Regions from separate parts of the Homo sapiens genome. Here regions 2, 3, 4, 5 and 6 are each linked to region 1. Evidence: promoter capture Hi-C in 16 types of primary human blood cells and fetal thymus (Javierre and others, 2016). All regions are on one chromosome and are shown on one strand. Each heading gives the region's core, a stretch centred on a gene start or on the middle of the fragment in contact. The rest is flanking DNA. Distances are from core to core; before and after follow the strand shown.

Region 1 (3,721 bases), core at 852-3,351:
GTGGGTGGATCACTTGAGGTCAGGAATTCGAGACTGGCCTGACCAACATGGTGAAGCCCCATCTCTAATAAAAATACAAAAAATTAGCCGGGCATGGTGGCGCACGCCTGTAATCCCAGCTACTCGGGAGGTGAAGCAGGAGAATCGCTTGAACCCGGGAGGCAGAGGTTGCAGTGAGCCATTGCACTCCAGCCTGGCAACAGAGCAAGACTCCATCTCAAAAAAAAAAATAAAAATAGGACCATGTTGCAACAAAGGGCATAAAATTCCTCCATGAGACACTGGTTGAGAAGAGGAACAAACTGGCGTTATCAGCCAAGTGTTCTTACAATAAAGAAAAAGTGAAGAAAATGCAAGTTTCTACAGAGTCCCAGAAGCCTTAACCATTGGAAAAACCAAGGTCTTGGTGGACATCCACAATTTTCTGCAAGCCCAATTCATGTCAGTGATTGCTCTAAAACATCGCGCATTCGTTTCATCCACTCTATGAGAAAGCCATTATCGCCAGGAGTCAAGAGACTAACTCTCCCAACGTCGCAGAACTACCAAAGTGGCACAGGTTTGAATTCGAACAGTGTTCAGATTGTGGCCTCTGCTCTCTCAGCCCAGACCCACAGAATAAGAAAGTCTCAAAAAAGGCCATTCTTCACTCTTTGACCAATCCCGGAGATGAAGTGGGCTTTTTAGTGCAAAGCCAGAGAATCAAAAGAGCCCTTGGACCCCAAATGACAGAGATCATGCAACTGCTCGCCTTAGGAGGCGAAAGTCAACAGGTACTCGAGTCCCCAGCCCTGGGACTCCAGATGGTTCCGTTTTCTCACCTACCCTGCCTTCCCCCAGCGAACAAAAAGCAACAAAAGCGCTTTTGAAAAGCCCCACTTAAGATACACGAACAAGATCAACTCATCCTCCCAGCACAGGAAACGCGGCGCTTCCCCCGCAGGAAAAGGGAAAGAGGACCAGGAGAGGGTGTGGCCTCGGGCGGCCGTTCTTCTCCGTCCCTATCTCAGAAAAAAGAAATTTAGACCAGGCGTGGTTGGCTTACGTCTGTAATCCCGACACTTCGGGAGGCCCAGGCGGGCGGATCACCTGAGGTCAGCAGTTCGAGACCAGCCTGACCAACATGGTGAAACCCCGCCCCTACTAAGAAACACAAAAATTAGCCGGGCTGTGGTGGCGGGCGCCTATAATCCCAACTACTCAGGAGGCTGAGGCAGAAGAATCACTTGAACCCAGGAGGTGGACGTTGCAGTGATCTGAGATCGCACCACTGCACTCCAGCCTGGGCGACAGAGGAAGACCGTGTCTCCAAAAAAAAAAAGAAAGAAATTTAGGCGGGAAAAACTCTCGGGCCGTCCCCAAGTCCGTTGGTCGAACCCTGACCACCGCCGCCAAACCGTTAAGCTAGAGGGCGGCCCCGATCCCGAGCCTCCGCCCCCAGCCGCGTGGCAACCCAGGCGGGAACGGAGCGATCCCGCCCATTCGCGAAGGACCACTGAGGGACAAGGCTCACACCGGACGCGCGCCGCCGAGTCTTCCGCGAAGGGTCTCGCGACAGAAAGCTGAACCAACACGAGGCGGGGAAGGGGTACCCGCGCCGCGAAGGGGGAGGGGCCCGCAGAGCGCGTGCGCGCCGCGAGTGCCCGGATGCAGCACTGCGACAAAGCGGGCTCGAGCGCGGGGCCGGGAGTTGGGGGAGGCGAGGCCACGGAGAATGGGCGTTTTCCACCCTCACCTGACGCTTCAAACCCCTAAGAAGCGTCCCTCCCAACGCCCACCCCAAGCAAACGGACTGCAAAGAAAAGACTTCCCGCCCCGCGCGCGAGGGCCAGAGGAGCGAAACAAAATGGCGACACCAGCCTCCTCCAGTTACTCTTCTCCGCGGCTTCCCGCCACAGGGGCGCCAAAAAATCCCACACGGGATCGCCGCCCCGGTCCCACTGAAAACGAAAAGCCCAGCTGGGAGGCCTCGGCCGGGTGCGCCGCCGCCGTCGCCTCGCGCCCTTACCTACCGTTTGAGGCCATGTCCGCGCACGCGCGCACAGGCAAGCAAGCAACGAAGTTCCAACACCGCTGAGTACCGACGCCTGGAGGACTGAGCAGCCCCGCCTCCTGCGTCGAAGCTTAAGTACGCTCCGCCGCCTACGCACCGCGCAGGCGCGCACCAAACGCGGAAGAGCAGGGGGAGGCAGGAACGCACTCCGCCCCCTTCGTAGGGCAGGTAGAGGGTCCGAGCAGGCAGAAGGGAAACAAGTTAACTAGAATCATGCGAATACTATACATAATCATATTTTTTGAGGAAGAACCCCTCTCTCCTCGGCAGGACTAGCCCACGATCTATCTCCACCCCCATGAAGGCACAGTGGTACGGCCTGAGTGCCCGCTGGGGGCGGGGCGAGGGGGCGGTCCCGGCGGCTGGGGACGAAACTGGAGTCACAGCCGGGAGTAGCGGGGTGGAACCGAGATTCCTGTGGCCGGGCCCCTTCGCTGGGCCCCGCTTTCACCCAGGATGGCGAGCTCCTGCCCTCCACCCTCTTGCCGCTGTATGGGGCGCCTCGTCCCCGCGGCTCCAGCCTCCCTCGTCGGCAGCACACTGGCCCTCCCTCTCCTGCGCCCTGAGGTTGACTTCGTCGTCTTTCAGGGTTGCCTTGCCTTTCGGCCTTTCTGGGGTTCGGGGATTATGACGTTTGACCTGAAAGACAGCAGGGATTTCGGCCGGGACCCCTGGGCCCCGGGCTCGTCCAGCACTGGGCTCTCACCCGGATCCTCATGGCTTTGCCCCTGGGGAGCCACGGGGCGGAACAGCCCAGGCCATCCTTGGGACCAGAGAGGGTTGACCTCAGATGTACGGTACCCAGCCTTTTCTCAGGGACCTCCTTTTTATTTTTCTGAAGCCCTACCAGGGCGATCCCAGAAATAAAACGTGTACAAGGCTTAAGTGGTTTCAAAATGCACAGATAATTTCCTTGTCATCAGTCTTACGAAGGAAGTAAAGATACCTCCGTTTTCTAGATAAGGAAAGTGAGACTCAGAGACCCAAGTAATTGTGCCTGATTACAGGGCAGCTAAGAGGAGTCGTGATTCGAATCCAGGTCTTGTAACTGCAAAACACTCCTCTTTTTGGTGGCATGAATGCTAGAGTGTTTGGTCGCCTTTTCACTTCCTGTGAGAGCAAAAGCAAAAAGAAACATTCAAATTAACTTGCAACTTGCACTTTCATCAGCCTTGCCTGGAGAAGGCAATTTGAAACTACTGAATAAAACAAGACAAAAGACGTTAATTCCTGATACATAGGCATGCAGGTTTTCCTTCCCAACTTAACCTTTCAGCGGGATTTCAGAAGGTCCTTTGAGGGTTGGACACGTCTTTCTAGAGAAACAATGAGGGCCATGCCCTGGGCCCGCCCACAAATTAAGCCCCACTAAGCCCTTGACTTCAGCCCTAAAGGCCCTGAATATGCCAATATCCACCCCACCGCCTTTGGAAGGAGAGTTCAACTCTCCAGTGAGAGCAAAAGAAAGGAAGTCCACCCTTATTCATGCATTAAGTCACAAATATTTATTTAGCACCTAGTATGTTCCAGGCACTGTTCTGGGCACTGGGTATGCATTCGTGTACAAAGCAGATGAAGTTAACATTTAATAATAAAGCTGACCGGGTGCGGTGGCTCACGCCTGTAATACCAGCACTTTGGGAGGCCGAGGCGTGTGGATCACGAGGT
Region 2 (3,808 bases), core at 372-2,871, 370 kb after region 1:
TCACGCCATTCTCCTGCCTCAGCCTCCGGAGTAGCTGGGACTACAGGCGCCCGCCACTACGCCCGACTAATTTTTTTGTATTTTCAGTAGAGACGAGGTTTCACCGTGTTAGCCAGGATGGTCTCGATCTCCTGACCTCGTGATCCCCCCGCCTCGGCCTCCCAAAGTGCTAGAATTACAGGCATAAGCCACCATGCCCAGCTAATTTTTGTATTTTTAGTAGAGATGAAGTTTCGTCATTTGGCCAGGCTGGTCTCGAGCTCCTGACCTCAAGTGATCCGCCTGCCTCAGCCTCCCAAAGTGCTGGGATAACAGGCTTTAGCCATCGCGCCTGGCCATTGGCTCCAATAAAAAAAAGAAAAAGAAAAAGAAAAGAAACACTCTTTGCCAGTTGAAACACATTTCCCAGTTGCATCTGCCAATCTGTGACCTCTACTTAGGGAACCAAGATAGATCAGGTTAGAGAGGTAGGCTTGAGCCAGGTTTCAAATCCTCTTGAGAGGTGGGCTTGAGCCAGGTTTCAAATCGTCTTGAATGCCAAGCTGAGTTTTGACTTGAACTCACAGGCAGTGAGTAAATCACTAAAAGGTATTTTTGGAACGAGGGGTGGCCTGAGGCAAGGATTTGGGGACTCCTTGTAGTGGAGTTTCACGTGAAATAAAAGGGAGAGGCAGGCAAGGTTGCAGGTTGTTGCAACGACACAGGTTTGCGGCAGTACGGCTGAGGGAGGGCTGGAAAGACGGGTTGGATGGAAAAGATGAAGCATAAAAGTATGGTCAAGGGAGGACGAGGGAAGCGGACGGAAAGCAGGAGAGAAAAACTGAGGTTCCGATTTGATTGAGAATGAACCCTCTCTCGGGAGGAGGGGCCAGGTAGTTTAGTTTGGTGCTGGTAGTGCTGAGTTTGAGAAGCTGACCCCAAAATCTGGTCTTGACCGCAACACGGAGTGGGGCCTGAGCTCCTCGGTGCAGCCCCAGCTCCGCTACTCGCTGCTGAACGACCTTGGACGAGCCCATGTCTAAATCAGACTTGATAAAGGAGTCGCCTCTAAGGAGGAACTGGGATCCCCTCCTTCCCAGGCTGGTGCTCGGGAGGGTGGAGGATGGAAGGAGCGGGTCCTTCCCCCAGGGAGCTCGGGGTCTACAGCAGGGCGGGGAAGCGGCCCTTCCAGAAGAGGCAGGAGAGGGTCGCTCCCTCGGCCAGCCTCGGGCCGCCTGGGCTTTACTGGGAAAAGCAGCCGAGGTCCTGGAAGAGTCGCGCCCCGCGGCCCCCGAGGAGAGCCGCGGCCCTCTCCTTGCCTCCCCAGCGCCTGATTCTCCCTTGCTGGAATTCGGGAGTCAGGGATGCCTTTGGGGAATCCCTTCCCCTCCTTCGGTCCTCGGCACTGCCTCTGAGCTCGGAGGCCCCGGTCGCCTGGGCCCGGACGCCGGCCCGGACGCCAGCCCGGGAAGCAGCAGGTCAGGAGCGGGAGCCGGAGCCAAAGCTGGACCCAGGCCGGAAGTGCGGCGCCCTCCGTGGGCCTCTCTAGGAGCGGAGGCGACCGCGTCTCAGTGGGAATAACCCCTTCAGCTCCGGGAGGCCGTCGCCGCGTGAGGTGTTCGCTCGCTTTCCTCCTGAGAAGGGCCGAATGATGGCCGCTAGTCACTCTGGGGACATTTGGAGGATTGAATGCCTGTAACCGCGCAGGGCCCACGGCCTGGGTTTCCATCCCCGATCCGCCTCATGGCTGAGCTCCTCGGACAAGTTATTCAACCTCTCTGAGTCACAGCTTTCTTCCTTGCAAGGGGTTGCTGTAAGGATTCCATGAATTAATGCATGTGCAGCACTCAGAAGAGAGGCTGGACCCCGCGTGGTGGCGCGCGCCTGTGATCCCAGCACTGGGAGGCCAAGGCGGGAGGATAGCGTGAGCCCAGAGGCTTGAGGCTGCAGTGAGCTATGATCACGCCACTGCATTGCAGCCTGGGTGACAGTGAGACACTGTCTGGAGGGGAAACAAAAAAGCTATATATCATTTTTTTCCATTATTTATACTCTGCTATAAAAGAACTTTTGGTGGAGGGTCACGTTTGAGACATGAGAATAAGAAACATGATAAAAATGATAGTAATAACTGCTATTTACTGAGAGCCTTCTGTGTGCTAGGTTCCTTACACACCTTATCTCTATAACCTCAGGGCAATTCTGTGAAGGGAATGTTAATATTATTCCCATTTTATGGATTAAGAAACGGGTTAGGCCAGGCGTGGTGGCTCACGCCTGTAATCCCAGCACTTTGGGAGGCCGAGGCAGGTGGATTACAAGGTCGGGAGTTCAAGACCAGCCTGGCCAACGTGATGAAACCCCCTCTCTACTGAAAGTATAAAAATTAGCCGGGTGTGGTGGCGGGCGCCTGTAATCCCAGCTACTTGGGAGGCTGAGGCAGGAGAATCGCTTGAACCCAGGGGGCAGAGGTTGCAGTGAGCCGAGATCACACCACTGCACTCCAGCCTGGGCGACAGAGTGAGGCTCCGTCTTAAAAAACAACAACAACAATAAACGGGTTAATGGCCAGGTGCGGTGGCTCATGCCTATAATCCCAGCACTTTGGGAAGCCGAGGTGGGCGGATCACGAGGTCAGGAGTTTGAGACAAGCCTAGCTAACATAGTGAAACCCCATCTCTACTAAAACTACAAAAATTAGCCAGGCATGGTGGCACGCAGCTGTAGTCCCAGCTACTCGGGAGGCTGAGGCAGGAGAATCGCTTGAACCCGGGAGGCAGAGGTTGTGGTGAGCCGAGATCTCGCCACTGCATTCCAGCCTGGGCAACAAAGCAAGACTCCGTATCAAAAAAAAAAAAAAAAAAAATCAGTCACAGTGGCTCATGCCTGTAATCCTAGCACTTTGGGAGGCCGAGGAAGGTGGATCACTTGAGTTCAGGAGTCTGAGACCAGCCTGGCCAACGTGGTGAAACCCTGTCTCTACTAAAAATAAAAAAATTAGCGGGGTGTGGTGGCAGGCGCCTGTAATCCCAGCTGCTCGGGAGGCTGAGGCACGAGAATCACTTGAAACCAGAAGGCGGAGGTTTCAGTGAGCCGACATTGTGCCACTGGACTCCAGCCTGGGTGACAAGAGCGAAACTGTCTCAAAAAAAAAAAAAAAAAAAAAAAACAGGGCCGGGTGTGGTGGCTCACGCCTGTAATCCCAGCACTTTGAGAAGCGAAGGTGGGTGGATCACAAGGTCACGAGTTCAAGACCAGCCTGGCCGAGATGGTGAAACCTCGTCTTTACTAAAAAAAAAAAAAATAGAAAAATTAGCTGGGCATGGTGGCAGACACTTGTAATCCCAGCTACTCGGGAGGCTGAGGCAGGAGAATTGCTTGAACCCAGTGGGCAGAGGCTGCAGTGAGCCGAGGTCATGCCACTGCACTCCAGCCTGGGTGACAGAGTGAGACTCCATCTCCAAAAAACAAAAAGAAAGAAAGAAACAGGTTAATAACTGAGTATATGTCAGAGTCTGATTTGAACTCAAAACTGCCTGATTCCAGAGTGCACAATGCACGATTTTCCCTCTCCTCTGCACTGAATCTCCATTTGGGAAACTTTTTCTGGGAATTCCAAACTAAAGCATCAAACTTGGACATCTAGTTAGTTCAGAGCTGTGCTAAATCACCTAATTCCTACAACAGGATGAAAATCAATCATGAACGGTGCTGCCCCAGAACAGACACCAACTTCATTTAAAAAAGAGCTCACGCCTGTAATCCCAGCACTTTGGGAGGCAAAGGAGGGAGGATTGCTTCAGCCCAGGAGTTCCAGACCAGCCTAGGC
Region 3 (3,823 bases), core at 773-3,272, 300 kb after region 1:
ATGTTGGCAACATTAAAATCAAGTGATTTCATATAAAAATCTGGACTAGGCTGGGCGCGGTGGCTCACGCCTGTAATCCCAGCACTTTGGGAGGCCGAGGCGGGTGGATCACGAGGTCAGGAGATCGAGACCATCCTGGCTAACACGGTGAAACCCCATCTCTACTAAAAATACAACAAATTAGCTGGGCGCGGTGGCGGGTGCCTGTAGTCCCAGCTACTCGGGAGGCTGAGGCAGGAGAATGGCCTGAACCCAGGAGGCGGAGCTTGCAGTGAGCCGAGATAGTGCCACTGCACTCGGGCCTGGTGAAAGAGCGAGACTCCGTCTCAAAAAAAAAAAAAAAATCTGGACTCAGGCCGGGTGACGTGCCTCACACTGTAACCCCAGCACTTTGGGAGGCTGAGGCAGGAGGACTGCTTGAGCCTAGGAGTTGAGGCTACAGTGAGCTATGTGTTGCTACCCTTCAACCTGCGCGACAGAGCAAGATCCTGTCTCTACCAAAAATAAAAAAAGAAATCTGGACTCCAGCTACCCTTGAAAGCAGATATTCTGAGATACTGAGTTTGCCTCCTGGAGTGGTCATGGGGCGGAGGTTGGTGGGGTAGGGGGGTAGGGGGTGCAGAACACTGACTGCCCTGGGGGCGGAGTCTCTGCCCTTCAGTCCCCGCAATCCCTACCGCTCCCTGGTGTTCCACTCTCCTCCTTGCTGTTCACTTGCATGGCCTCCAGGCTAATGGCTGAGTTTTGCGGCCAGGCATTTCAGGCCTCCCAGCCTTGGCCTCTGCTCACCTTCTCCACCTCCTCACTCCCTGCTCTAGTCATCTTCATCTCATGTCCTGCCCTCCAGCCACATGGGCTTCTTGGTCCCTTCCACACCTGTTTTTGCCCATGGAGTTCTCCCACCAAGTTCCTTATGGTAGAAAAGCCCCTGCTGGATTTGGCCCCTGCCCACCTCTCCTGCCCCTTTCCCCAAGCTTTCTTCCAACTCATGCATAGAACTTCTACCACAAGGAAGCTGGCCAGGCTGTTAGCACTCCCGTTCCCTCTGTCTGTGAAGCCCTTTCCTTCCCTCCACCCTCCCCTTCTCTCTCTTATCTCAGGCTTTGGGTTTGATTTCACCTCCTCCAAGGTTCCCTGACCTTCAAACTAGGTCAGGTCCCTGGTTAGTCACTATACTTCCTCTTTCTCACCTCCTTCATCTCACTTCCCCTGCTAGAATAAGGCCACATCTGTCTCATAATCTCTGTCTTCCTAGGGCCTAGTGTGGTGCCTGGCATACAGTAGGTGCTCATTAATGATAAATGAATGAAAGCAAGCACATCTCCCTTTCTCTACTGGCAAAATCCTAATCCTTTTCTGGTTACATTTCTCCTGTAGCATCCAATTCTGTTCTCGAGACCCAAAAGATCCCTGAGGTCCTGTGATCAATGGAGTTTTAGCTCAGGTCCATTTCACAGTGGGCCCAGGGGATCCCCAGATTCATCCGTGGTTATTTCCCCAGGCACAGAGTGAGTGCACTGGTGGCACAGGCATACCCAGCAAGTGGCATAATCCCCCCCATTAGTTAACTGGGTGTCGCTGTGCATGGCTGTGAAGGCAGGGATGCACCTGGCTGGTGACCCCAGAACCCCTCCGGGTACGGCACAAGGGCAGAGCCCAAGAACTTACTTTCTGTCCTCTTGCATTTGCCTGTGGATTTGCAGTTGGTAATGGCGTTCTTGCCCGGCCCTCCTTTGTTCCTCCAGGCAGCCAGGCAGCTGTGGCGTAGTGAAAGGGCAGGATGCGGGATAGGAATGGAGTTATTCCTGATTCAGACTGATTTGCTCTAACTGTGATTTGGGGCAAGTCCCTTCCCCTGTCTAGACCTTAGCTGGCTGCCGCATCTAAAAAATGGAGCCAATAATCTTTTCCTCGTCTTTGGGGTCATCCATCTTTCAACCACATCAGGAGCAGCGGGAACCAAGTGCAGAGGATGGCCTTAAAAGCAGTATGGGAACCAAATTTTTGTAAAGTAAATATTTTCAACCTTTATATTTTGGAATCACCAGCGGTATTTATTACGTGCACTCTAGGAAATGGAGGCAATGCAATGCCAAAAACAGAAAGTAAAACTGCTGTCCTGTGCCGCGGCCCGGTGGAGGTTTTAATGTCTGTATCTTAAGATCTGGTGAGGGCACGGGTAGGTGCGGCTGGACTGAGTGAAACCAGCCCCGCTGGGCGCCTGGGCCCTTGTCTCAGGGCTGTGCTCGCAGTGGAGGCATCTGCAGCTCGGCACCCAGAGGCCCCGCGACCCTTCCAACCTTTGTGACGCTCCGCGGAGACAAAGGCCGGCGGCGCAGCCTTGGGAAGGGTTAAGGCCACAGACGCAGCCCTGCGCGTGCTAGAGCGGCCGGTGGCGGACTTCCGGTTGGGGCGCGGGCGCGCGCCGCGTGTTCCCGACCCGCCGAGGCTGAGACCTCGGGCAACCTCAGCAGTGCGCAGGGCTGCACTGTCTCCGTCTGCGGCCTGCAGTAAGCGGGTAGGGGATATGTCGCGTGGCCTCGCCTGGTCTGCGGCGGGAAACTCGCATCTAGGCCAGACCCTCCCGCAGGGTCCGCACTCGCGATCTGGGCTGTGGGCAGCATCGTGGCCCCTCGGGGCGTTATAGGGGCGTGAGGATCCCGGGCGAGCTGGGGGCGGGCGGCTTCTTCAGCTCCCTTGCGCCATGGAACCCACTGTATGCCCGTTATGCAGTCAGGAAAGATGAGGCCGGGAAGGAGGGCGTTACGCTGCAACCCCGGAGACCAGCTGTCCCTCGCGTTGCCGCAGTCGGCAGAGGCGTGGCCGGAGCCATTCCCGGTCTCCAGTGCGGCTGCAAGAGCGGGCGCCCGAGGGCGTTCTGCTCCGGGCCTCCACCCGCGAGCTGACCGTGTCAGGCGCGCCACACACGGCGCTTCTCATTCTCTCTCCACCTCGCGAGGCAGAAGCTGCCGTTCCCGTGTCACAGACAGAAAAACAGTCTGGGGTGATTTATCCGGAGTCAAGACTCAGGTCTGTGGCTCAGTCGGGAAGGATAGAAACCCAAGCTTCCTCCGAATGGTTCAGAGACCCGACCAAGTTAAATAATAATGGCCCTGGCTCAGGGGTCTTTAAGTCTTCCCCCCGCCCTCCCCTTTTGTTTTTGTTTTGTTTTGAGACCGCCTCACTGTCCCCCAGGCTGGAGTGCAGCGGTGCGATCTCCGCTCACTGCAGCTTCGACCTCCCGAGGGCTCAGGTGATCCTCCCACCTCAACCTCAGGAGTGTCTGGGACTACAAACACGCGCCACCACGCCCGGCTAATTTTTCTGTTTTTTGTAGAGTCAGGATCTCGCTATGTTGTCCAGGCTGGTCTGGAACTCCTGGGCTCAAGCGATCCTCCTGCCTCGGCCTCTGAAAGTGCTGGGATTACAGGCATGAGCCACCGCACCTGGCTACCCTTTAATTAACTCAAGGAGTTTAATAATTGAATTTAGGCTGGGCTCAGTGGCTCACGCCTGTAATCCTAGCACTTTAAGAGGCCACGTCGGGCAGATCACTTGAGGTCAGGAGTTCAAGACCAGTCTGGCCAACATGGTGAAACCCTGTCTCTACTAAAAATACAAAAATTAGACGGATGTGGTGCCACACACCTGTAATCCCAGCTACTCGGGAGGCTGAGGCAGGAGAATCCCTTGAACCCGGGAGGCAGAGGTTGCAGTGAGCCAAGATCGCACCACTGCACTCTAGCCTGGGCCACAGAGCAAGAATCTGTCTCAAAAAAAAAAAAAAAGGTTTGACACCTATACCTTCCTCTGTGTGTGTGTG
Region 4 (3,944 bases), core at 277-2,776, 450 kb after region 1:
GAGAGAAAAAGAGGAAGTAATCAGCACCCTCAGAGTCCACATCAAAACCTGACTGTTCTTCCCAGATGGAAATAAATATATAGAAACCATGGGATCCAAAAATACACTATGCTTTTTGTAGTTTTCCAAGTTATCAATGAGAACTATTCTTTCTCAGAAGTTATGTTAAATAACTTTCTTTTTTATGTTAAATAACTATTCTTTCTCAGAAGTTATGTTAAGTAACTTCTCTCCTAGAGAAAACTGATCTTTCCTTGTATGCTACCAAAGCAGAATGACTGAATATTCAAAATTAAGATCTACAATTCCAACAAGTTTATAGAATGGACGATTTGTGGGTATTTTCCTACGTAACACTCAACTCCAGGACTATAGCCTTCTTCAAATCACTGACCAGGATACAGAGGCGCCAATCAAATCCAGACCAGGTTTTTGCCAAGGGCCAGACTGGAATGGGGTGGAATGGGAACAGCTAACCGGACATCCGAGTCTCATCACTCTGAGACAGAAAATGGGCAACCCGGCAGTGAGGACACCTGGATGACTTTGACCCAATCCTTTCCCATCTTTGTGCTTCCAGTTTCACAGTCTGAAAAACTTCTTTGTATCACTTATTATGCTTGTAGTTACACATCTGTATGATTATTTAACTAATATCTATCCACTACACGGTAGGCCCCATACAACATGAACTGTGCCTTGCTCACTATAATCACTCAGTAACTAGCACAATTAAGCTCTCAATACATTTATCTGTTAACAAAATGAACAAATGAGGGAGACTAGACCCCAAGAGATAGTTGTGAAAAGAGGAGTGTTCCAAATCTCCTTCCTGACTGCTACCAAGTTTCACCTCTTGGCTTGAAGTGCTCTATGTGAGGGAAAAAAGGTGTCCTAGCAGACGGAAAAACCAATAAACTCAAAGAGCTAGTTCCTTTTGAGGCTAGCTCCCAATAGTAGCAAAAAGAGAAAATCTGGCCAGGAGCAGTGGCTCAAGCCTATAATCCCAGCACTTTGGGAGGCCTAGGTGGATGGTTTGAGCCTCCTATTCAAGACCAGTTTGGGCAACATGGCAAAACCGCATCTCTACAAAAAATACAAACAAGGGCCAGGCGCGGTGGCTCACACCTGTAATCCCAGCACTTTGGGAGGCCGAGGCGGGCAGATCATGAGCTCAAGATATCAAGACCATCCTGGCCAACATGATGAAACCCTATCTCTACTAAAATTACAAAAAAGTTAGCTGGGCGTGGTGGTGCAAGCCTGTAGTCCCAGCTACTTGGGAGGCTGAGCAGGAGAATCGCTTGAACCTGGGAGGCGGAGGTTGCAGTGAGCTGAGATCGCACCACTGCACTGCAGCCTGGTGACAGAGTGAGTCTCCATCTCAAAAAAAGAAACAAACAAGTAGCCTGGCATGGTGGCACAAGCCTACAGTCCCAGCTACTTGGAGGGCTGAGATGGGAGGTTCACTTAAGCCCAGGAGGCTGCAATGAGCGGAGACTGTGCCACTGCACTCTAGCCTGATTGACAAAGTGAGACACTGTCTCAAAAAAAAGACTATTTGTAAACCATACGTCTGAAAAAGGATCTGTAATCAGAATATATAAAGAACTCTTACAACTCAATAATAAAAAGACAACCCATTTTAAAAGGGCAGAGGATCTGAACAGATAGTTCTTCAAAGATACACAAATGGCCAGCATGGTATTTCAACCACATGAAATAAAGCTCAACATTAGCCAACAGGGAAATTCAAATCAAAATCACAATGAACTACTACTTCACACCCAGCAGGATGGCTATAATCAAAGTGATGATGTGCCAGGCATGGTGGCTCACACCTGTAATCCTAGCACTTTGGGAGGCTGAGGCGGGCAGATCACTTGAGGTGTGGAATTCGAAACCAGCGTGGCAAACATGGTAAACCCCATCTCTACTAAAAATACAAAAAAATCTGGCCAGGTGCAGTGGCTCATGTCTATAATCCCAGCACTTTGGGAGGCCAAGGCAGGCGGATCACCTGAGGTCAGGAGTTCGAGACCAGCCCGGCCAACATGGTGAAACCCCATCTCTACTAAAAATAAAAAAATTAGCCAGGCGTGGTGACGCCATGCCTGTAGTCCCAGCCACTCGGGAAGATGACACAGGAAAATCGTTTGAGCCTGGGAAGTGGAGGTTGCAGTGAGCCGGGATGGTGCCACTTTACTCCAGCCTGGGCAACAGAGCAAGATTCTGTCTCAAAAATAAAATAAAATAATAAGAATACAAAAAAATTAGGTAGGCATGGTGCCACATGCCTGTAATCCCAGCTACGAGGGAGGTTGAGGTGGGGTCACTTAAACCCAGGAGACAGAGGTTGCAGTGAGCCAAGACCGTGCCAAAGCACTCCAGCCTGGGTAACAGAGCAAGACTCCTTCTCAAAAAAAAAAAAAAAAGTATTGGCTCAAATGTGGAGAAACTGGAATCCTCACAGACTGCTGGTGGTAATGTCAAATGCTGCAGCCACTTTGGAAAAGTCTGGCAGTTCCTTAAACAGTTAAAACCTAGTTACAATATAACCCAGCAATTCTTCTCCTCAGTATGTATCTAACAGAAACTGAGAACACCTGTCCATACAAAAACTTGTACATGAAATGTTCACAGCAGCATTGTTCATAACAACCATAAAGCAGAAGTAACACACGTTTCCATCAACTCAAGGATAAAATGTGGTATTCATACATTATTATTCAACATAAAAACAAATGAAGTACTGATATACGCTATAACACAATAAAATTCAAAGAACATTAATCTAAGTAGAAGATGCCAGTCACAATGGACCACACATTATACATTATGACTCCATAGGCAAAACTAGAGAAATAAAAAAGTAGGATGGTAGTCATTCAAGACTAGGAGGGACGGAGGGATTGGGGAATGCTGGCTAACAGGTGCAGCGTTTCTTTTTGGGGCCACGGAAAGGTTCTAAGTTGATTGTGTTGATGATTGTACAACCCTATAAATATATTAAAAACCTATTGTACAGTTTAGGGCCAGGCATGGTGGCTCACACCTATAATCCCAGCATTTTGGGAGGCCGAGATGGGAGGATCACTTGAGGCCAGGAATTCGAGACCAGCCTGGTCAAGAGTGGGAGACCCCCATCTGTATTTAAAAAAAAAACCAAAAACTATTGTACAGTTTAAATGGGTAAATCGAATGGTATATGATTTATAGCACAAACTGTTACCAAAAAAAACCAAGTGGCAAGAGGCTATTATCTACTTGCAGAGCAATCCCTCTACTCTCTACTTCCAACCAGCCAGGACCAACCTAGCGGCTGGTCAGGTAAAAACCAAAGGTGGAGTCAATGGCACTGGTGGAAGGTGGGGGAGTAGGCATGAAGCAAAGACTAAGCAGCAGCTCTGATTACAGTGGGGAAAAGCCAGAGGGCGTGGAGGGACCCACTGGACCTTCCTTCTCCTTAGTTCTGGTTTACTTAAGCTGAACTGTGAGTTTAACTCAAGTACTACACAGACATGGGCCTATATACATAGTACAGGAAAGAAACAGCTACCGGAAATCATAAAAGGGACAGAGAAGAGTTCCTTTTACTGCCCATTTATTACCGTGCGGGTTAAAAAACGGGAAAAGAGGCCGGGCGTGGTGGCTCACCCCTGTAATCCTAACACTTCAGGAGGCTGAGGCAGGCGGATCATGAGGTACACGCCCAGGGAAGAGAAGGGACTTGTCCAAATGTCACTCAAGTACTTGGTCCATAACATTAAGCTTTGTAATTCACCAGGTTAAATGTGACATCACTGTTCCATCCACCCTACCAACACTCCAAAGAAACTCAACTTCCTGTTCCCTCTTGAGGAAGTAAAACTTACCAGATAAAAAGGGGAACGAGGTGGTGGGGGGGGCTGGCGTCGAGGCCGGGGGCCACCAAACGAGGTAGC
Region 5 (3,580 bases), core at 426-2,925, 270 kb before region 1:
AGGCTCAAGCAATCCCCCTGCCTCAGCCTCCCAAAATGCTGGAATTACAGGTGTGAGCTACCATGCCCATTTATTTATTTATTTATTTATTTATTTATTTTTGAGACAGAATCTCACTCTGTCATCCAGGCTGGAGTGCAGTGGTGCAATTGTGGCTCACTGTAGCCTCAACCTCCTGGGCTCAAGTGATCCTCCCACCTTAACCTCCCAAGGAGCTGGGACTACAGGCATACACCACCACACCTGGCTAATTTTTTGATTTTTAAAAAATGTTTTGTAGAGACGGGGTCTCACTGTGTTGCCCAGGCTGGTCTTGAACTCCTGAGTTCAAGTGTTCCTCTGGTCTCAGCCTCCCAAAATGCTGGGATTACAGATGTGAGCCACCTAACCTGGTCTTTTTATTTTTTTAAAGAGCCAACATTTAAATAAGGAGATTTCACATCACAGTCGATTTCTGGGGCTTGGTTTGTTGTTGTTTTTTTTGTTTTTTTTTTTTTTTAATTGAGACAGGATCTTGCCAGGTTGCAGACTGGTCTTGAACTCCTAGGCTCAAATGATCCCCTCCTGGCCGGGCACGGTGGCTCACGCCTGTAATCCCAGCACTTTGGGAGGCCTAGGTGGGCGGATCACGAGGTCAGGAGATCGAGACCTTCCTGGCTAACAAGGTGAAATCCTGTCTCTACTAAAAATACAAAAAATTAGCTGGAAATGGTGGCAGGCGCCTATAGTTCCAGCTACTCAAGAGGCTGAGGCAAGAGAATGGCATGAACCCAGGAGGCAGAGCTTGCAGTGGGCGGAGATCCTGTCACTGCAATCCAGCCTGGGTGACAGAGCAAGACTCCGTTTCAAAAAAAAAAAGAAAAGATCCCCTGCCCCGGCCCTTCCCTCCCCCACCCACCTCGGCTTCCGAAAGTGGTAGGATTACAGGCGTCAGTCACCACACCCGGCCTGCTTTATTATTTATATCAGAAGATGCTGCAACATTGGATTTTTATGGCAGCAGTTCGTTGAGTAGTGGCTGTCCTGGACATAGGAACAGGGACACTCCCTCTTGCATCCCTGACTCAGCACGTTTCATATGTGTTACTTGCCTGTCCCCTGCAGAAAAGTACTTGAGGTTACAGTCTCCATCCCACCCCACTGTGGGTGAGAAGGACCTTTCCATGCAGTGAAGGCACTTTTCCCCTTTCCTTCACCCCTTCCTGTTCCCTTCTCTGCCGTTTTCCTTCTTCTCCCCCAGAACTCCTCTGTGAAATACCTGGCCTCCTTCCCTGAGCCTCCCTGTCTCCCTGCCACCCCATCTCCACTCCGTGCTATGACATCACCCCGTAATTTGAAGCTCCTTTCCCTATCTGAAGGGAGGCAGAGACAGAGTGCACAGGCTCAACTAGGCAAGGCAGACCCTTGCATGCCTGGGTCAGAGGTCAGGGTCTCTGGCACACATTCCTCCCAGAGCAACTGTAGGAAGCAAGCCAGTACAGAGGTACTCTAAGCGCTAGACAGGACGGGGTGGGAGTCGGTAACATCGTCTCCTCTGGGCTGGCCCTGCTTCTGCTTAGCTCTGGGCATAAGACTGACTCCAGTACAGTCACAGTTATGTCTCTGAGCTCACCCAGTCCTGGGTTCCAGGTTCCCAGCTCTGAGCCTGGCGAGACACACACAGGCTGGTGCTGTGGGATGTCTTGGTACGGTGGCTCACGCCTGTATTCCCAGCGCTTTGGGAGGCCGAGGTGGGCAGATCACCTGAGGTCAGGAGTTCGAGACCAGGCTGCCCAACGTGGTGAAACCCTGTCTCTACCAAAAATATAAAAATTAGCCAGGCATGGTGGCACGTGCCTGTAATCCCAGCTACTTGGGAGGTTGAGGCAGGAAAATTGCTTGAACCCAGGAGGTGGAGGTTTCAGTGAGCCAAGATCGTGCCACTGCACCCCAGTTTGGATGAAAGAGTGAGACTCCGTTTCAAAAAAAAAACAAAAAAAACAAAACCAAAAAATAAAAAAACACATCAGCTTGACATTTTGGAGGCATTCCCAGACTCAGGGTTAGTCAGCAGATTAGCATTTAAAAGAAAGTCTTGTCCCTACAGATTCCCTGACCTCAGCTACCCATGAAGGGTGGGAAGAGGAGTCCTTAGCAAGAAGTCCAGGAAGTTGACAACCTCCTCAGACCTGATAGGACACTCCTCTCTCCACCCTGCCTCCTGACTGATTTAATCTCAGGGGTGTGAGGACCTCTGAGATAGGCCCCAGGAGTCTCACCCGCACCACTTATGTCTCAGGGCTAACCAGAGACTCCCTGAAACAGATCCTAGAGGATTCCCAAGTGATAGGATAAATAGAGAGGTACTGAGACTTCCTGGCGTGGGTGACCTCTCCCAGGCTGGCCAACCTCCCCCATTCAGAAATTTGCTGAGCACCAGGAGTGAATGAAGTAAAGGAAGCCCCTAGGAGTTCAAGAAGCAGAGATTTCCAGGTCCATGCACCAAAGCTCATGTGCTCAATTCTCAGGAAAGGCCTCACTCAGTTAAAAAATTTTGTATCATGAAAGGGTAAATGAATTAATTAGTGAATCTGGTTTCTAAGCCAATGGCTTACTAGAAATATTATAGTAAATCAGAAAAAAAAAAAAAGGCGGTGGCTCACACCTATAATCCCAGCACTTTGAGAGGCTGAGGTGAGAGGATGCTTTGAGCCCAGGAGTTCGAGACTAGCCTGGGCAACATAGCAAACCCCATCTCTAGAAAAAATTAAAAAACCAGCCAGGTGTGGTGATGTTCACTGTAGTCCCAGCTATTCAGGAGGCTGAGGCAGGAGGACCGCTTGAGCCCAGGAATTTGAGACTGCAGTGAGCTAGGATTGTGCCACTGCACCCCAGCCTGGGCAACAGAGTGAGACCCTGTCTCTAAAAAAATAATTTTTTTTAAAGATAATTCTTCAAAGGAGATCCGCTCTTCCTTTCCTACACCCATTCCCTTTCCTCCCTTTCCTGAACAATGCTGTCTTACAGCCTCTAGGGGCAGGCAGAGCCAAAGAGGCCTCTGCCGGGTGTGGGGAGTGAGACGCAGCAGGCCAGAGCATGTATCAGAGCTCCAGCAGGTGGGGGAGGGTGTCCACACGAGAAGGTGGCCTGGCTTGGCATGGCAGAACCTGATAGGATTAGGAAGGCATCAGCCACGGGAAGGAGATGGCGAGAGAGATAAGAAACTGCTTCCACCAGCTATTGGTCAAATAAGTACACATTTGAAAGATAACAGCCAGGTTTCTCAGTGTCAGAGAAAACCGAGACACAGCTCGGGAAAGGGAGAAAATGTGGGTGGGGAGACCCTTGTGGTGTCGAATTGGAACTGGAGGTATAGGAGTAGACTCAGGATTTTCAGAAAGTGTTTAGATAGACATAGAAATTAGTATGGGTGTGTATATGTGTATGTGCACGCAGATGTGTGTAAATGTCCATATATTCCCTAGCTCTGGAAAGCCCTGGAGCAGTGCCATCCCAATAACAAAAAGCTTTTTATGGTTTTTTGAGATAGGGTCTCTCCCTCACCCAGGCTGGGGTGCAGTGGTGCGACCACAGCCCACTG
Region 6 (3,667 bases), core at 235-2,734, 260 kb after region 1:
CCGGGGACTTTCATACCCATCCATGGGGCTAAGGGGCCCTCCAGCGCTCCAGGGGAGGGGCCTGGAGGGCGGCGACTGCAGGCGGGGGTGGGGGCTTTCAAGGGGAAGCAGGGTCTAGGAAGGAGGGCCAGTTCCCCAGGGTGGAGAGGTCATAGGAAGGAGGGCTGGAGATGAGTTTGGAGTAGAGAGAGGGTGAGGCTGGGGGCGGGGAAGGTAGAGAGAGGCCGGGCTGAGGATGAATGGGAGTGGGCGCTGCCCAGGTCTGGGGGTGAGGAGGAGCCGCATGAACCCACCTCACACGTGTCCCGGGAGCCATCTCTCCCTTCTCGGCAGCTCCCGGCGGGTCGGCGGCCATCGGCGGCGGGGGGGCCGGGCGGCGCGGGGCGCGGAACGCTCAGAACGCCGGGGTCCACGGCCCCCCGAGGGCGCTCGGCCCCTCCCTCCGGCGGAGGCCGGGACGGCGGCGAGTGGAGATGGGGGGCGCCGGGGGCGAGGCCCTCCCACGGGCTGCGGCGCGGCCCTTCCAGGGGGAGGTCCTGCTCTGGGAGGCTCAGTCCCTCAGCCCCCCCAGGCCAACGGGGGCTCCTTGGGCGCAGGGTGCTCAGCTTCTGCCCGGGGCCCACTCAGTCCCGGGTCCGAGTCCCAGCTCCCCTCCCCCCACCCCGCCCCGCCTCTCCCCAGCGCCCCTGGCCCTTTAACTGGCCCCTTCCCGGACCCCACTGCCCAGGGGTCCAGTGCCAGGCCTGGGCCCCCCCCACCGTTTCCGGGGTTCAAGCCCGCCCACCGCCGGTTCCCGGGGAGGGGGGGGTCGCTGTAACCTGCCCCCCTCCCCTGGGCCCGCCCCTGGACTGCGACCCCCTGCCCTACGGCTGCGAGGCGAGCGGAGGGGGAGGTGAAGGAAGCTGCTCCGGCCCCGCCCCCCCCAGCCCGCGCGCACCCCCGACCTCTCCCCCTCCCCCAAGCGCGCGACCCTCGGGAGATAGGGATTTAAATAAAATTTGAATAAATCCCCCTCCTCAAGCGGGAGGGTGGAAGGAAAGGATAGAGGGGGAGAGGGAAAGGGGAAGGGGGCAGTTGGGGTGTCTCAGCCCCCCTGGTCCCCCAGCCCCGCGCTGCTACGGCCCGGGGCCCTGGCCGCCTCTCTCATCCCTCCTCAGCTCCTTCCTCCTTCCTCCTCTCTTCCCCCCTCCCCTCCCCTCCCTCCTCCTTCCCTCCTCCTCCTCCTCCTCCCCCTCTTTACTCCCTCCTTCTCCCAGAGGAACCCCGCCCCCTTCCCCCTCCTTCCTCCACCACCTCCACTTTCCAGGACGAACGCACGCAGGGCTCGACGGGAGTTGTAGTCCTGCGGCCACTGATGCTACGGGGGAACAATAGGACGCTGGGGACAGCGGGAACTACAAACAGGACGGCGGAGGGCGTGCCCAGCCGGGAGCCGAGGATGCCGGGAGTTAGAGTCCCGTTGCCCCGAGGCTCCCAGTTGCAGAACATCGAGAAGGAGAGGGAACGATGACTACAAACAAGATGGCCTTCTCCCCCGACCCGACCTCCTTCCCAGGCACTCACACGCCCTCCTGTCCACAACCCTCCGCGTGTGTGGTACCTGACGGGAGTCGCAGTCCATCTGCTGCCTTCCCGCTGCCATTTCTACTCGTCAGGAACAATGGAAAGGTGAAAAGGAAAGAGGACTACAAGCAAGATGGCGGAAGAGGGACATACACCTGACTAGTAGTCGATCTTACGAGGTGCGATGGGATTAGTAGTTTTATAGCCTTCCAGTGTTCCTTAAGAATGGCGGAACCAGGAGGACGAGGAGACTACCGTAAAGATGGCAGGCTACCTAGCCTCTCCCGGTCTCCGCTTTCCACCACCTTGGGCACCTCGCCCGCCTGTGGTCTCGAAATCCCCCCCACCAGTGGCGCACGGCCTGACGGGAGTTGCAGTCTCCCGGCTCCCGTCTATCATCTCAAGTCGAGACAATGGAAGGGGATGGGGCGGGGCCACCGGCAAAGATGGCGGCTGCAGGGCCGGGGCGACTGCGACATGGGATGTGTAGTCCAGGCGTCTGGCCTCTTCCCTGCGGAAATGAGGGAGAGGACTACGAAAAAGATGGCGACCTCGCCCCTCGACCTCTGCGCCGGTGCCTGCTGGGAAATGTAGTTCCTTGCCGAGTCCAACAGAGAAAGGACGTCGCTGTTGAAATGTGAATCCCGGCGGACACGCCAAATTGCGAGGCGACGGAAACGGAAAGACTCTTTTCTCCTCTCTCCGCCACCGGCTTCTGAACAGCCTGGCGGGAAATGTAGTCCCAAGCTTTCACTCGCGAGTGGAGGGGAAGGATTTATGTCACCAGTGGGGATCAGTGCGGGTGGGGGAGAAAAACGTCGGGCGATCCGGGAATAAAGAATGTCCGCCTCTCCATGGGGCGAGGACTTCGCGTTTCAGGGGAGGGCCCTTAAAGGAAGGCAGCAGGAATCAGTCTTGTCGAACAGGGGGGCGTGGTTCTCGTCGAGAGTGCATTCACACTCTTGTTCCCTAGAAAGCCTGGGCACCTCCCACTCGATTCCTGCTCCTCAGACCTCCGGGAATCAGTGTCTTACAAGACGTGCGGGCTCCGGGGAAAAGGACCTGGAGTCACAGCGAATCCCCGCCCCGCCCCGGGAAGCCACCAAACCTTGCTTTTTCTCATCTGCAAAATGGGGACAATGGGGATAATGATCCCCACCTCGAAGCACAGTTGTGAGTGTTAAACAAGCCAATGTTCTTGTCACCAAAGTGCCCAACTCTGGCACGGGGCACGCGGTGGTAGATCCCTTTCTAAGGTCCCTTCCAGCCCAGCCGTTCTGGGAGCCCAGGAATCCATGATGCCGGACAGAGTTCGCTCCTGTGAGAAGAAAACTGACCCGCAGGCTCCTCCCAGATTGAACCGACCCCCGCCCCTCCTCATCGGGGTCCTCCAGCGTCTGTTACCGAGCACTGCTCCCAGGGGGCGCTCAATCTCCATTCGACTGAGGTACTACAAACACGATTTCCGCAACCTGGAGTTGGAGGCATTGCAGGCTGTCCAGCCTCATCCCCTGCCTGATATCCAGTCAGCCTTGGAGGCCTCTGCCTAGACACTTCAACTGCCTATGCAAATGGAACGGCTTCTCATCTTTCTGCCGTTTTTTGGTTTTTTTTGTGTGTGTTTTAAGGTCTTGCTCTGTCACTTGGGTTGGAGTGCAGTTGCAGGATCATAGTTTGCTGCAGCCTCGACCTCCTGGGCTTAAGCGATCCTCCTCCCTCAGCCTTGTGAATACCTGGGACTTCAGGCACGCGCCACTACACCCAGCTAATTTTTAAACTATAATTTTTTTTTGTTCAGACGAAGTCTCGCTATGTTGCCCAGGCTGGTCTCGAACTCCTGGCCACAAGTGTGCCTCCCGCCTTGGCCTCCCTAAGTGTTGGGATTATAGGTGTGAGCCAGCAGCCATACCCCTCTTCTCAATCTTCCTTCTCCCCTGGAAAACCTGCTCACTTCTGACCCCAAGACAGCCCCCTCCCCTTCCCTCTGTCTTCTGTGTTTGGCAGACCAGCCCCAGCGAGGACTTGTTGGTTGTGGTTTTTCTATCAGGGAAGTCAATGGCTGGCCAGTGTAGTGTGAAGTCCCAGCTTGGCAGAGACTTGCCCA

The links. Contacts are between HindIII fragments. The CHiCAGO score rates a contact against its expected background, and 5 or more counts as called.
Region 2: a fragment that was not itself captured here is called in contact with the fragment with the promoter of FUS in region 1 in 1 of 17 cell types (monocytes); the score reaches 5.2 in monocytes.
Region 3: a fragment that was not itself captured here is called in contact with the fragment with the promoter of FUS in region 1 in 1 of 17 cell types (M0 macrophages); the score reaches 6.4 in M0 macrophages.
Region 4: a contact is called between a fragment that was not itself captured here and the fragment with the promoter of FUS in region 1, in 1 of 17 cell types (monocytes). The highest score is 6.6, in monocytes.
Region 5: a fragment that was not itself captured here is called in contact with the fragment with the promoter of FUS in region 1 in 17 of 17 cell types (M0 macrophages, M1 macrophages, endothelial precursors and 14 more); the score reaches 25.5 in M0 macrophages.
Region 6: the fragment with the promoter of FBXL19-AS1 here is called in contact with the fragment with the promoter of FUS in region 1 in 2 of 17 cell types (fetal thymus and megakaryocytes); the score reaches 6.9 in fetal thymus.

The regions. Positions count from the first base shown.
Region 1 is chr16:31,178,519-31,182,239 of GRCh38, reverse strand. FUS (FUS RNA binding protein) reads right to left here and starts at 2,101. Exons shown (of 15, transcript NM_004960.4): 1 at 2,013-2,101. The coding sequence starts at 2,025. RefSeq lists enhancers at 826-875, 976-1,035, 1,066-1,155, 581-1,341, 1,342-2,103 and 4 more and silencers at 1,386-1,435, 1,556-1,705, 2,346-2,415. The HindIII fragment of the contact is 6,651 bases long and covers 1-2,125 here.
Region 2 is chr16:30,803,303-30,807,110 of GRCh38, reverse strand. All of the region lies in intron 1 of LOC124903679 (a long non-coding RNA gene), which reads right to left. Among named protein-coding and RNA genes, the nearest start is that of ZNF629, 18 kb to the right of the region's middle. RefSeq lists silencers at 1,374-1,463, 1,604-1,663. The HindIII fragment of the contact is 5,793 bases long and covers 1-3,808 here.
Region 3 is chr16:30,873,964-30,877,786 of GRCh38, reverse strand. MIR4519 (microRNA 4519) reads left to right here and starts at 2,464; the gene lies at 2,464-2,521. MIR762HG (MIR762 host gene) reads right to left here and starts at 2,327. Exons shown (of 3, transcript NR_110942.1): 1 at 2,301-2,327; 2 at 1,669-1,757. It also overlaps a transcript of BCL7C not described here. RefSeq lists a silencer at 1,555-1,614 and enhancers at 1,935-1,984, 2,015-2,224, 1,534-2,288, 2,495-2,754, 2,289-3,043 and 1 more. The HindIII fragment of the contact is 2,091 bases long and covers 977-3,067 here.
Region 4 is chr16:30,725,014-30,728,957 of GRCh38, reverse strand. SRCAP (Snf2 related CREBBP activator protein) reads right to left here. Exons shown (of 34, transcript NM_006662.3): 25 at 3,876-3,944. Among named protein-coding and RNA genes, the nearest start is that of TMEM265, 14 kb to the left of the region's middle. The HindIII fragment of the contact is 4,495 bases long and covers 1-3,773 here.
Region 5 is chr16:31,451,394-31,454,973 of GRCh38, reverse strand. No RefSeq gene overlaps it. Among named protein-coding and RNA genes, the nearest start is that of ARMC5, 6.3 kb to the left of the region's middle. RefSeq lists enhancers at 747-1,518, 1,519-2,291, 2,872-3,166. The HindIII fragment of the contact is 3,667 bases long and covers 1-3,508 here.
Region 6 is chr16:30,921,086-30,924,752 of GRCh38, reverse strand. It overlaps FBXL19-AS1 (FBXL19 antisense RNA 1), which reads left to right and starts at 1,484. Exons shown (of 1, transcript NR_024348.1): 1 at 1,484-3,667. FBXL19 (F-box and leucine rich repeat protein 19) reads right to left here and starts at 1,181. Exons shown (of 11, transcript NM_001382779.1): 1 at 294-1,181. RefSeq lists enhancers at 1,263-1,422, 1,463-1,552, 1,175-2,142, 1,583-2,402, 2,143-3,111. The HindIII fragment of the contact is 5,738 bases long and covers 1-2,312 here.